Linked DNA regions of Homo sapiens: region 2 is linked to region 1. The links are contacts of gene promoters, found by promoter capture Hi-C in human tissues and cell types (Jung and others, 2019). All regions are on one chromosome and are shown on one strand. Each heading gives the region's core, a stretch centred on a gene start or on the middle of the fragment in contact. The rest is flanking DNA. Distances are from core to core; before and after follow the strand shown.

The links. The method cuts DNA at HindIII sites, captures the fragments that hold promoters and counts their contacts. A contact is called where the count stands out against the background at its distance.
Region 2: a fragment that was not itself captured here is called in contact with the fragment with the promoter of TIGD7 in region 1 in 3 of the 25 tissues and cell types used here (adrenal gland, spleen and stomach).

What each region holds. Positions count from the first base shown.
Region 1 is chr16:3,303,794-3,308,549 of GRCh38, forward strand. It overlaps TIGD7 (tigger transposable element derived 7), which reads right to left and starts at 1,637. Exons shown (of 2, transcript NM_033208.4): 1 at 1,419-1,637. ZNF75A (zinc finger protein 75A) reads left to right here and starts at 1,704. Exons shown (of 7, transcript NM_001302109.2): 1 at 1,704-1,850; 2 at 4,520-4,756. The coding sequence starts at 4,636. RefSeq lists an enhancer at 1,198-1,727. The HindIII fragment of the contact is 22,904 bases long and covers 1-4,756 here.
Region 2 is chr16:3,419,036-3,424,086 of GRCh38, forward strand. No RefSeq gene overlaps it. Among named protein-coding and RNA genes, the nearest start is that of ZNF174, 20 kb to the left of the region's middle. RefSeq lists a silencer at 1,268-1,550. The HindIII fragment of the contact is 7,760 bases long and covers 1-5,051 here.

The DNA of each region.
Region 1 (4,756 bases), core at 387-2,886:
AAACGCTCAAATGGTGCTCCAGGATTTACTTTTTTGTATTGTTTTGTTTTGTTTTTTGCGACGGAGTCTCGCTCTGTCGCCCAGGCTGGAATGCAGTGGCGTGAACTCGGCTCACTGCAAGCTCCGCCTCCCGGGTTCACGCCATTCTCCTGCCTCAGCCTCCCGAGTAGCTGGGACTACAGGCGCCCACCACCACGCCCGGCTAATTTTTTTTTGTATTTTTTAGTAGAGACGGGGTTTCACCATGTTAGCCAGGATGGTCTCGATCTCCTGACCTCATGATCCGCCCGCCTCGGCCTCCCAAAGTGCTGGGATTACAGGCGTAAGCCACCGCGCCCGGCCAGGATTTACTTTCTTAAATGCACTCTTTTCATTCCCATTCAAAGGACTCCAGTATAAGTGCCACATAAACTCGTTTTCTAACTTTTAAAACTCTTCCTCTAAATGCAGCCCAACTCAGTAAAAACGTACCTAAGATCTCACAGTCTAATGTTTCCAGCTTTTAAAGCCTTTACTCCTACCCTTCCCTCTGCCTGGAAAGTGTCTCCATTCCCTGCTGTGGACAAAATCCCTCAAGGTCTTTTATAATTTCCCCCAACCCCAAATCAACTTGGATTTTCTTGGAGTTCTCACAGCATTCAGTTTATGTCCTATTCTTACCCTTGTGTTACTGATATTCACGAAATTGCTCAGTCCTTTCAAGAGATTGCTTAAGGACAAAGACTTCTTACTCAACTCTGCAATATTGGCTACACATAGCTGACTTAATAAATAGTCCCTTGACTGGTATAAGCTGACGTTACAAAAACTGGTAATTCCGAAACCACTCATACTGGACTTATTAAATAATCCCTCAACTGGTACAGACTGACATTACAAAAACGGATTAATTCAGAGATCACTGAACACCCAAAACACTCAGATTCTTATAACTATGATTCAGTAAATATGTGTGGAATGCCTATCTTACCAGGTGACTATGTTAGGCGCTGCATGAGATATAAGATGAAAACAAGGTTCCCATTTTCCAGGGAAGAATACTGGAGTGGAAAACGCAGAGGATACCACAACAGGAGAGCTATTTCCGATTAGCGGCCGCCACTGCTGAGCTATGTGACCCTGAGCAAGTCACTTCTTAGGTCTCCGTTTCTCTGTCAAGGAGAGATAGAAAAAGAACCTATTTCACAGGTTCAAACCTACCTCAAGAAAAAATAGTTGTGGGGAATGCGTCACGAGACCTAGAAAACGGTACAAAACCCTCGGGGGGCCGCTGTTTCTGACCTAGCGAGTGGCCCGACCCGGACAAAATGCCTCTTCCTCGAGGAGGCGGCGACGAGCCCAGCAACAGCTCGAGCACGGCCGGCCGGGCCGCGGGAAGCCCGAGAACGCGGCGCGCGCAGCTGGGAGGCGACCCTTACCCGGCGAGGCTCCCGGGACCAAACGCCGCCCGACAGCCACGCAGAACAGACGCGGCAGTGCGACGCCTCCCCCACTGGGGACACGAGACAGCGACAGCCACGCGGTGAGCCGGTACAAGGCCCTCTAGGCTTCAGCGGGTCTGGATACTCGGTGGCATTAACCCTTCCCTACCGCCGGGGAAGACAGCAGTTTCTCTGGCGAGGAAGTAGGCCGGGCTCAGGCGCCTTAGCCAGAGGGCGGGCCTGCGCCACCCTCGGAAAGCGTCACTTCCACTTCCGGCCGGCGCTCTGGCTCTGTACCTGGACAGGGCTGCGGTAGGCCAGCGGTGGGCTGGCGGTTGCGCTCCTCAGATCGGCGGCCTTTCGGGCGGTGGCTTGCGTTTGAGCCTCAGAAAGCGAGGAGCGGCCTCCACGGAAGCCAAGCTGGCCGAGGTAACCGAGAAGCGGCTTCCCCTATGGCTTCGACCCTGGAGCCGCTGGAGCGGCGGCGGCCGCAGGGAGGCAGCCATTTTCCGTAGGCGGTGGCCGCGGCGCTTCCGGGCCGCGCGGCTGGAGCCTGAGGCGGGGCCACCGTCGGGCACGAGAAACCATTCTCTCCCCGCTTTTCGCAGCTGTATCCCAGAGGCGCGGCTGAAGCTCGCTGGGACACTGCCCGCTTGCCCAGTGCCCACGGGCACGCCTGTCGCAGACACAGGCTGTGGCGAATCCGAGTGCTGGCGGGCAGCAGTGCCTGCAGCTGCGCCCGCAGACTCTTTCCCGCCTCCGCCGGCATTTCCGTGTCCGGCCGATGTCATGCGGTCGGTTGAGCCTCAGGGCTAGCAGCTTCTACTGATGCAAAAACATAGGAAGTGTCTCTTTGCTTCTGGAACCGGGGTGGGCAGCAAGGAGCTGGCCACTTCTTTGAATACCGGTGGCATCCTGGGCAGAATTTCGGTGCCGTTTCTGCTGGCTCACTTCAGGAAAAGTGAGGCTCACGGCTCTCCTCAGCCCCCCTTAGAAGTCTAAATGACCTTTGGAGAAATACAAAGTCAGCAGAAAGTTTCACTTTCATCGTCACCAACTCCTGTTGGAGTTGATATTTCATAAACATCAGCGACAGAAAGAAAATACGACTTGATATTTTGTAAATAAAATATCCTTTTTTACAAGTTGATATTTTGTAAACAGAGGTCAGCTGTAATTTTCTCCAGATCAAGTAAGCACAGTTAAAAATTCATATAGGCCTGGCGCGGTGTTTGACGCCTGTAATCCCAGCACTTTGGGAGGCCAAGATGGGTGGATCACGAGGTCAGGAGATCGAGACCACCCTGGCCAAGATGGTGAAACCCTGTCTCTACTAAAAACACAAAAATTAGCCGGGCATGGTGGCACGCGCCTGTAATCCCAGCTAGTCGGGAGGCTGAGGCAGGAGAATGGCTTCAACCGGGGAGGTGGAAGTTGCAGTGAGCTGAGATCACGCCACTGCACTCCAGCCTGGGTGACAGGGCGAGACTCCATCTCAAAAAAAAAAACAAAATTCGTATAAATCATCTGCATGGCACCCTTTATGTGTGTTGCAAAGAATGATGAGCATCTTGTTGCTTACTTGGGAGACATTGTCTGAAAATAGGCTACTTTTTTACTTTCTGTAGTACCCCCTCCCCCCACTGTATCTGGGTTTCACTTACCCGCTGTCAACTGCCATCCAAAAAATATTAAATGGAAAACTCCAGAAATAAACAGTTCATAAGTTTTAAATAACTTTTTTTTTTTTTTTTGGAGATGGAATCTCGTTTTGCTGCCCTGGCTGGAGTGCCGTGGCACAGTCTGAGCTCACTGCAGCCTTCACCTCCCGGGTTCAAACAATTTTCCTGCCTCAGCCTCCTGGGTAGCTGGGACTACAGGCGCGCACTACCACACCTGGCTAATTTTTGTGTTTACAATAAAGAAGGTTTCACCATGTTGGCCAGGCTGGTCTTGAAGTCCTGGTCTCAGGTGATCCACCCACGTCAGGCCTCCCAAAGTGCTGGGATTACAGGCATGAGCCACGGCGCACCGCCAGTTTTAAATAACTCTTACTACAGTGTTTTATTGTTAATCTCTTATTGTACCTAATTTATAAATTAAGGTATCATAGCTATGTATACATAGAGAAAATAGTATAATGCAGTTAGATGCTGTTGGGGGTTTTAGGTATTCACAGAATGTACTGGAACTTACCCCCCTTGGAGAAGGGATACTACTGTATTTTGATCTCACCGTCTCAGCTCTTTTGCCAGTATTCCTACAATGGAAAATCTAAAATGTTGTTTTTTAAGGTGCCTTTATTTTTAGTTTTTAAATTAGAGACAAAGTCTTGCTCTAACTCCCAGGCTGGAGTGCAGTGATGAGGTCATGGCTCACTGCAACCTTGAATTCCTGGGCTCAGGCGACTCTCCCACCTCAGCCTCCTGAGCTAGAACTACTGGTGTGCTCTACCATCCTGGCTATTTTTTTTTTTTTTCTTCAAATTTTGTGTTTTGTAGAGACGGGGTCTCGCTATGTTGCTCAGGCTGGTCTGAAACTCCTGGCTCAAGTGATCCTCCCACCTCGGTCTCCAAAAGTGCTGGGAATGCAGGCATGAGCCACTGCACCTGGCCTAAAATATTTTTAAAGTGAAGGCTTCCATCTTCACAAGAGGATGAAGGGTCATAAAAGTTGTACTCCCCTTACTAGAGACAGACTGGGATGATCTGTTGAAATTTAAGAGAATCTCAGAATGTTTTCCTAATCTTATTTTCTCCTATTCTTTTCTTATGGGGAAGATGGGATAGGAGGCACACCAGTTAAATCCTTGGAAAATCCCAAAATACCTTTCAGCCAGTGGGTGCCAATTTTCTTACCCACCAATCTTTCCTAAATTGTTTTCTTTTTTATAAAAAAGACAGTTGTCCACTGACATTTGTGTGTTTTGTGCTGTGCTTCAGCTGAATAATAGAAAAGGAGAAAAACAAAGGGCCTGCTAGTTGATTTTGAAGGGAAGACAGGACACCTTTTCTGTTCTTCTTTCTCTCATAAGTCGCAAGTGATGAGGTTCATGTGAGTTTCTTATTGATACATACTTTTCTTTTTCTTGTCCTCAGTGCTTTTAGGAAGAAGATCCTTTTATTGCTTTTGTACAAGACCAGACAGGATCTCATTTGTTAAACGTGGTACCAATTGGGTGTCTTAACACAGGAGCAGAACTTCCTAGAGCAGAATGATGATGGTAGATCTGAAAGTGGCTGCGTACTTGGACCCTCAGATCAGGGCTTTGTGGGAGACCAAGGGGCCTGCAAGAGAGAGCTCCGGTCAGAGTAAAAAATCTCCTCAAATGGACT
Region 2 (5,051 bases), core at 443-2,942, 120 kb after region 1:
GTTGTCATCCAGTCTTTGTTGTTCAACTGATAGAGCACAGGCAGAATAAACATAATTCTTAAGGGCTTCAGGATTTTTCAGAATGGTAAATGAGAACTGGCTTCACCAACGGCATTCACCCCAACAAAAGAGTCAGCCTGCCCTTTAAGGCTTTGAAGCCAGGCATTGACTTCTCCTCTCTAGCTACAAAAGTCTTAGATGGCATCTTTCCCCAATAGCAGGCTGTTTTGTCTACATTGAAAATCTGTTCTTATTGTAGCCACTTTCATCAATGATCTTAGCTAGATCTTCTGGATAACATGCTGCAGTTTCTCCATCAGCACTTGAAGCTTCACCTTGCACTTTTATATTATGGAGATGGCTTTTCTCCTTAAACCTCATGAACCAACTTTTGTTACTTCCCAACATTTCTTCTGCACCTTCTTCACCTCTCTCAGCCTTCACAGAACTGAAGAGAGTTTGGGCCTTGCTCTGGATTAGGCTTTAGTTTAAGGGAATGTTGTGGCTGGTTTGATCTTCTATCCACACCACTCAAACTTGCCCCATATCAGCAAAAAGACTGTTTCACTTTTTTATCATTCATGTGTTCACTGGAGTAGCACTTTAAATTTCCTTCAAGAACTTTTCCTTTGAATTCACAATTTGGTTAAACATTTGGCACAAGAAACCTAGCTTTTGGCCTGTCTCAGGTTTTGACATGCCTTTCTCACTAAGCTTAATCATTTCTACCTTTTGATTTAAAGTGAGAGATGGGCCAAGGGGTGGTTCATGCCTGTAATCTCAGCACTTTGGGAGGCTGGGGTGGGTGGATCACAAGGTCAAGAGTTGGAGACCAACCTGGCCAACATGGTGAAACCCCATCTCTACTAATAATACAAAAATTAGCCAGGAGTGGTGGTGCACACCTGTAGTCCTAGCTACTCAGGAGGCTGAGGCAGGAGAATCGCTTGAACCTGGAAGGCAGAGGATGTAGTGAGCCAAGATCACGACACTGCACTCCAGCCTGGGCGACAGAGCGAGACTCCATCTCCAAAAATAAATAAATAAAGTGAGAGATGTGTGACTCTTCCTTTCACTTGAACACTTAGAGGTCATCGTAGAGTTATTAAGTGGTCTAATGTCAATATTTTTGTGTCTCAGGGAAAAGGGAGGTCCAAGGAGAGGAAGAGCGATGGGAGTATGGCTGGTCAGTGGAACAGTATTGAAAGTTCCATGCAGGCTGGGTGCGGTGGCTCATGCCTGTAATCCCAGCACTTTGGGAGGCCAAGGTGGGCAGATCATGAGGTCAGGAGTTCGAGACCAGCCTGGACAATATGACAAAACCCCGTCTCTACTAAAAATACAAAAATTAGCCGGGCATGCTGGCATGCACCTGTAGTCCCAGCTACTCGGGAGGCTGAGGCAGGAGAATCGCTTGAACCGGGGAGGCAGAGGTTGCAGTGAACTGAGGTCCTACCACTGCACTGCAGCAGGGGTTGACAGAGTGAGACTCCATCAAAAAAAAGAAAGAAAGAAACACAGAAAGAGAGAGAGACGAAAGAAAGAGAGAGAGAGAGAGAGAGAGAAAGAAAGAAAGAAAGAAAGAAAGAAAGAAAGAAAGAAAGAAAGAAAGAAAGAAAGAAAGAAAGTTCCGTGCAGTATTTTCTGTTCCTGCCAGTAGTTTCTGGCCTCCAACTCCATCGATATTCCTGCAAAAGACATGATCTCATTCTTTTTTATGGCTGCACGGTATTTCATGGTGTATATGTACGTTTTCTTTATCCAGTCGTCACTGATGGGCCTTTGATTCCACGTCTTTGTTATTGTGAATGGTGCTGCTGTGAACATTCATGTGCATGTGTCTTTACAAGAGAATGATTTATATTTCTCTGGGTACATACCCAGTAATGGGATTGTGGGGTCAAACTGTAGTTCTCTTTTTAGCACTTTGAGGAATCGCCATACTGCTCTCCACAATGGTTGGGCGAAATTTATACTCCCACTAACAGTGTATAAGTGTTCCCTTTTCTCTGCAATCTTGCCAGCATATTTTTTGACTTTTTAATAACAGCCATTATCACTGGTGTGAGATGGTATCTCATTATGGTTTTGATTTGCATTTCTTTAATGATTAGTGATATTGAGCTTTTTTTCTTATGATTGTTGGTTGCATGTATGTCTTCTTTTGAAAATTGTCTGTTCATGTCCTTTGCCTACTTTTTAATGGGGTTGTTTTTCTCTTGCAAATTTGTTTACATTCCTTATAGATGCTGGATATTAGACCTTTGTCAGACGCATATTTGCAAATATTTTCTTCCATTCTGGAGGTTGTCTGTTTACTCTGTTGATAGTTTCTTTTGCTGTGCAGAGGAAGCTCTTTAGTTCAATTAGGTCCCATGTCTCAATTTTTGCTTTTGTTGCAATTGCTTTTGGAGTCTTTGTCATGAAATATTTTCGATCCTATGTCCAAGACGGTATTGCCTCGGTTGTCTTCTAGGGTTTTTATAGCTTTGGATTTTACATTTAAGTCTTTAATCCATCTTGAGTTGATTTTTGTATATGGTGTAAAGAAGGGGTCCAGTTTCAATCTTCTGCATATGGCTAGCCAATTATCCCAGCACCATTTATTGAACAGGGATTCCCTCCACCCACACACCATTGCTTGTTTTTGTCAGCTTTATTGAAGATCAGATGATCTTAGGAGTGTGGCCTTATTTCTGGTCTCTCTATTCTGTTCCATTGGCCTATGTGCCTGTTTTTGTACCAGTACCATGCTGTTTTGGTTACTGTAGCCCTGTAGGACAGTTTGAAGTCAGGTAATGTGATGCCTCCAACTTTGTTCTTTTTGCTTAGGATTGCCTTGGCTATTCAGGCTCTTTTTGGTTCCATGTGAATTTTTTTTTTTTTTTTTTGAGACAGAGTCTTGCTCTGTTGCCCAGGCTGGAGTGCAGTGGCGCAATCTTGGCTCACTGCAAGCTCCGCCTCTCGGGTTCATGCCATTCTTCTGCCTCAGCCTCATGTGTAGCTGGGACTACAGGCACCTGCCACCATGCCCAGCTAATTTTTTTTTTTTTGGTATTTTTAGTAAAGATGGGGTTTCGCCGTGTTAGCCAGGATGGTCTCAATCTCCTGATCTCGTAATCTGCCCATCTCGGCCTCCCAAAGTGCTGGGATTACAGGTGTGAGTCACCGCAGCCAGCTGGTTCCATGTGAATTTTAAAATAGTTTTTTATAATTCTATGAAGAATGTCATTGGTAGTTTGATAGGAATAGCATTGAATCTACAAATTGCTTTGGGCAATATGTCCATTTTAATGATATTTATTCTTCCAATCCATGAGCATGGGATGTTTTTCCATTTGTGTCATCTCTGATTTATTTCAGCTGTGTGCTGTAATTCTCATTGTAGGGATCTTTCACCTCCCTAGTTAGCTGTATTCCTAGGTATTTTATATACTTATTTATTTTTTTGAGATGGAATCTTGCTGGGATTACAGGTGTGAGCCTCCATGCACGGCTTGGTATTTTATTCTTTTTGTGGCAATTGTGAATGGGATTGCCTTCCTGATTTGACTCTCGGCTTGGCTGTTGTATGTGCATAGGAATGCCGGTAATTTTTGTACATTGACTTTGTATCCTGAAACTTTGCTGAAGTTGTTTATCAGCTGAAGGAACTTTTGGGCTGAGACAATGGGGTTTCCTAGATAGAAACATGTCATCTGCAAACAGGGAGAGTCTGACTTCTTTTCTTCCTATTTGGATGCCTTTTCTTTCTTTCTCTTGCCTCATTATTCTGGCCAGGACTTCCAATACTACGTTGAATAAAAGTGGTGAGAGAGGGCATTATTGACTTGTGCCAGTTTTCAAAGGGAATCCATCCTGCTTTTCCTCATTCAATGTGTTGGTTATTTTATGTTTTCTTTAGAAAAATGTCCATTCAAATTCATTGCCCATTTTTTAATTGGGCTATTTGGTTAATTTGTTTTTGAGTTGTGTGAGTTCCTCATATATTTGATGACTTTATCAGATATATTATTTGCAGGTATTTTCTTTTAATCCATAGTCTACCTTTTCATTTTGTTGACTGCCTCCTTTGCTTTGCAGCAGTTTTATAGCTTGATGTAATCCTACTTGTTTCTTGTGTCTTGCTTTGTTTTTTTTTTTGCCTCAGCTTTTGGTGTGATATTCAAAAAATCATTGCTGGCTGAGTGCAGTGGGTTACATTTGCAATCCCAGCACTTTGGGAGGCTGAGGCAGGCGGATCACCTGAGGTCAGGAGTTCGAGACCAGCCTGGCCAACATGGCAAAACCCCGTCTCTACTAAAAGTACAAAAATTAGCTGGGTATGGTGGTACACACTGTAATCCCAGCTACTTGGGAGGCTGAGGCAGGAGAATTGCTTGAGCCCGAGAGGTGGAGGTTGCAGTGAGTCAAGATAGCACCACTGCACTCCAGCTGGGTGAGACAGAGCAAGACTCTGTCTCAAAAACAAAAAACAAAAACAACAACAAACAAAACATAAAATAAAAAATAAGGAAAGATTTACTATTGATATTTTGTTACTTATTTCTGTTAGTCTTATAGTCCTTCTGTCCCTTTCTCTTGCTGTTTTCTTTTGTATTTCACTGTTTTTTTTTTTTTTTTTTTTTTGAGATGGAGTCTTGCTCTGTCACCCAGGCTGGAGGGCAATGGCACAATCTCGGCTCACTGCAACCTTCGCCTTCTGGTTCAAGCAATTCTCCTGCCTCAGCCTTCCAAGTAGCTGGGATTACAAGTGTGCAGCACCACACCTGGCTAATTTTTCTATTTTTAGTAGAGATGGGGTTTTGCCATGTTGGACAGGCTAGTCTCGAACTCCTGGCCTATGTTTTCATTATTTTCTCCTTTTCTTTAATTCTATAGGCATTTTCTTTGTAGTTACCAAGTGTTTACATAAAATCTCTTATAATAGTCTACTTTAAGCTGATAACAACTTAACTTCCCTTGCATGTCAGAACTTTGCTTTTATCTCTCTTCCCCTGGCTTATATGCTATTGATATCACCACTAACACCTATTTATATTGTACCAATT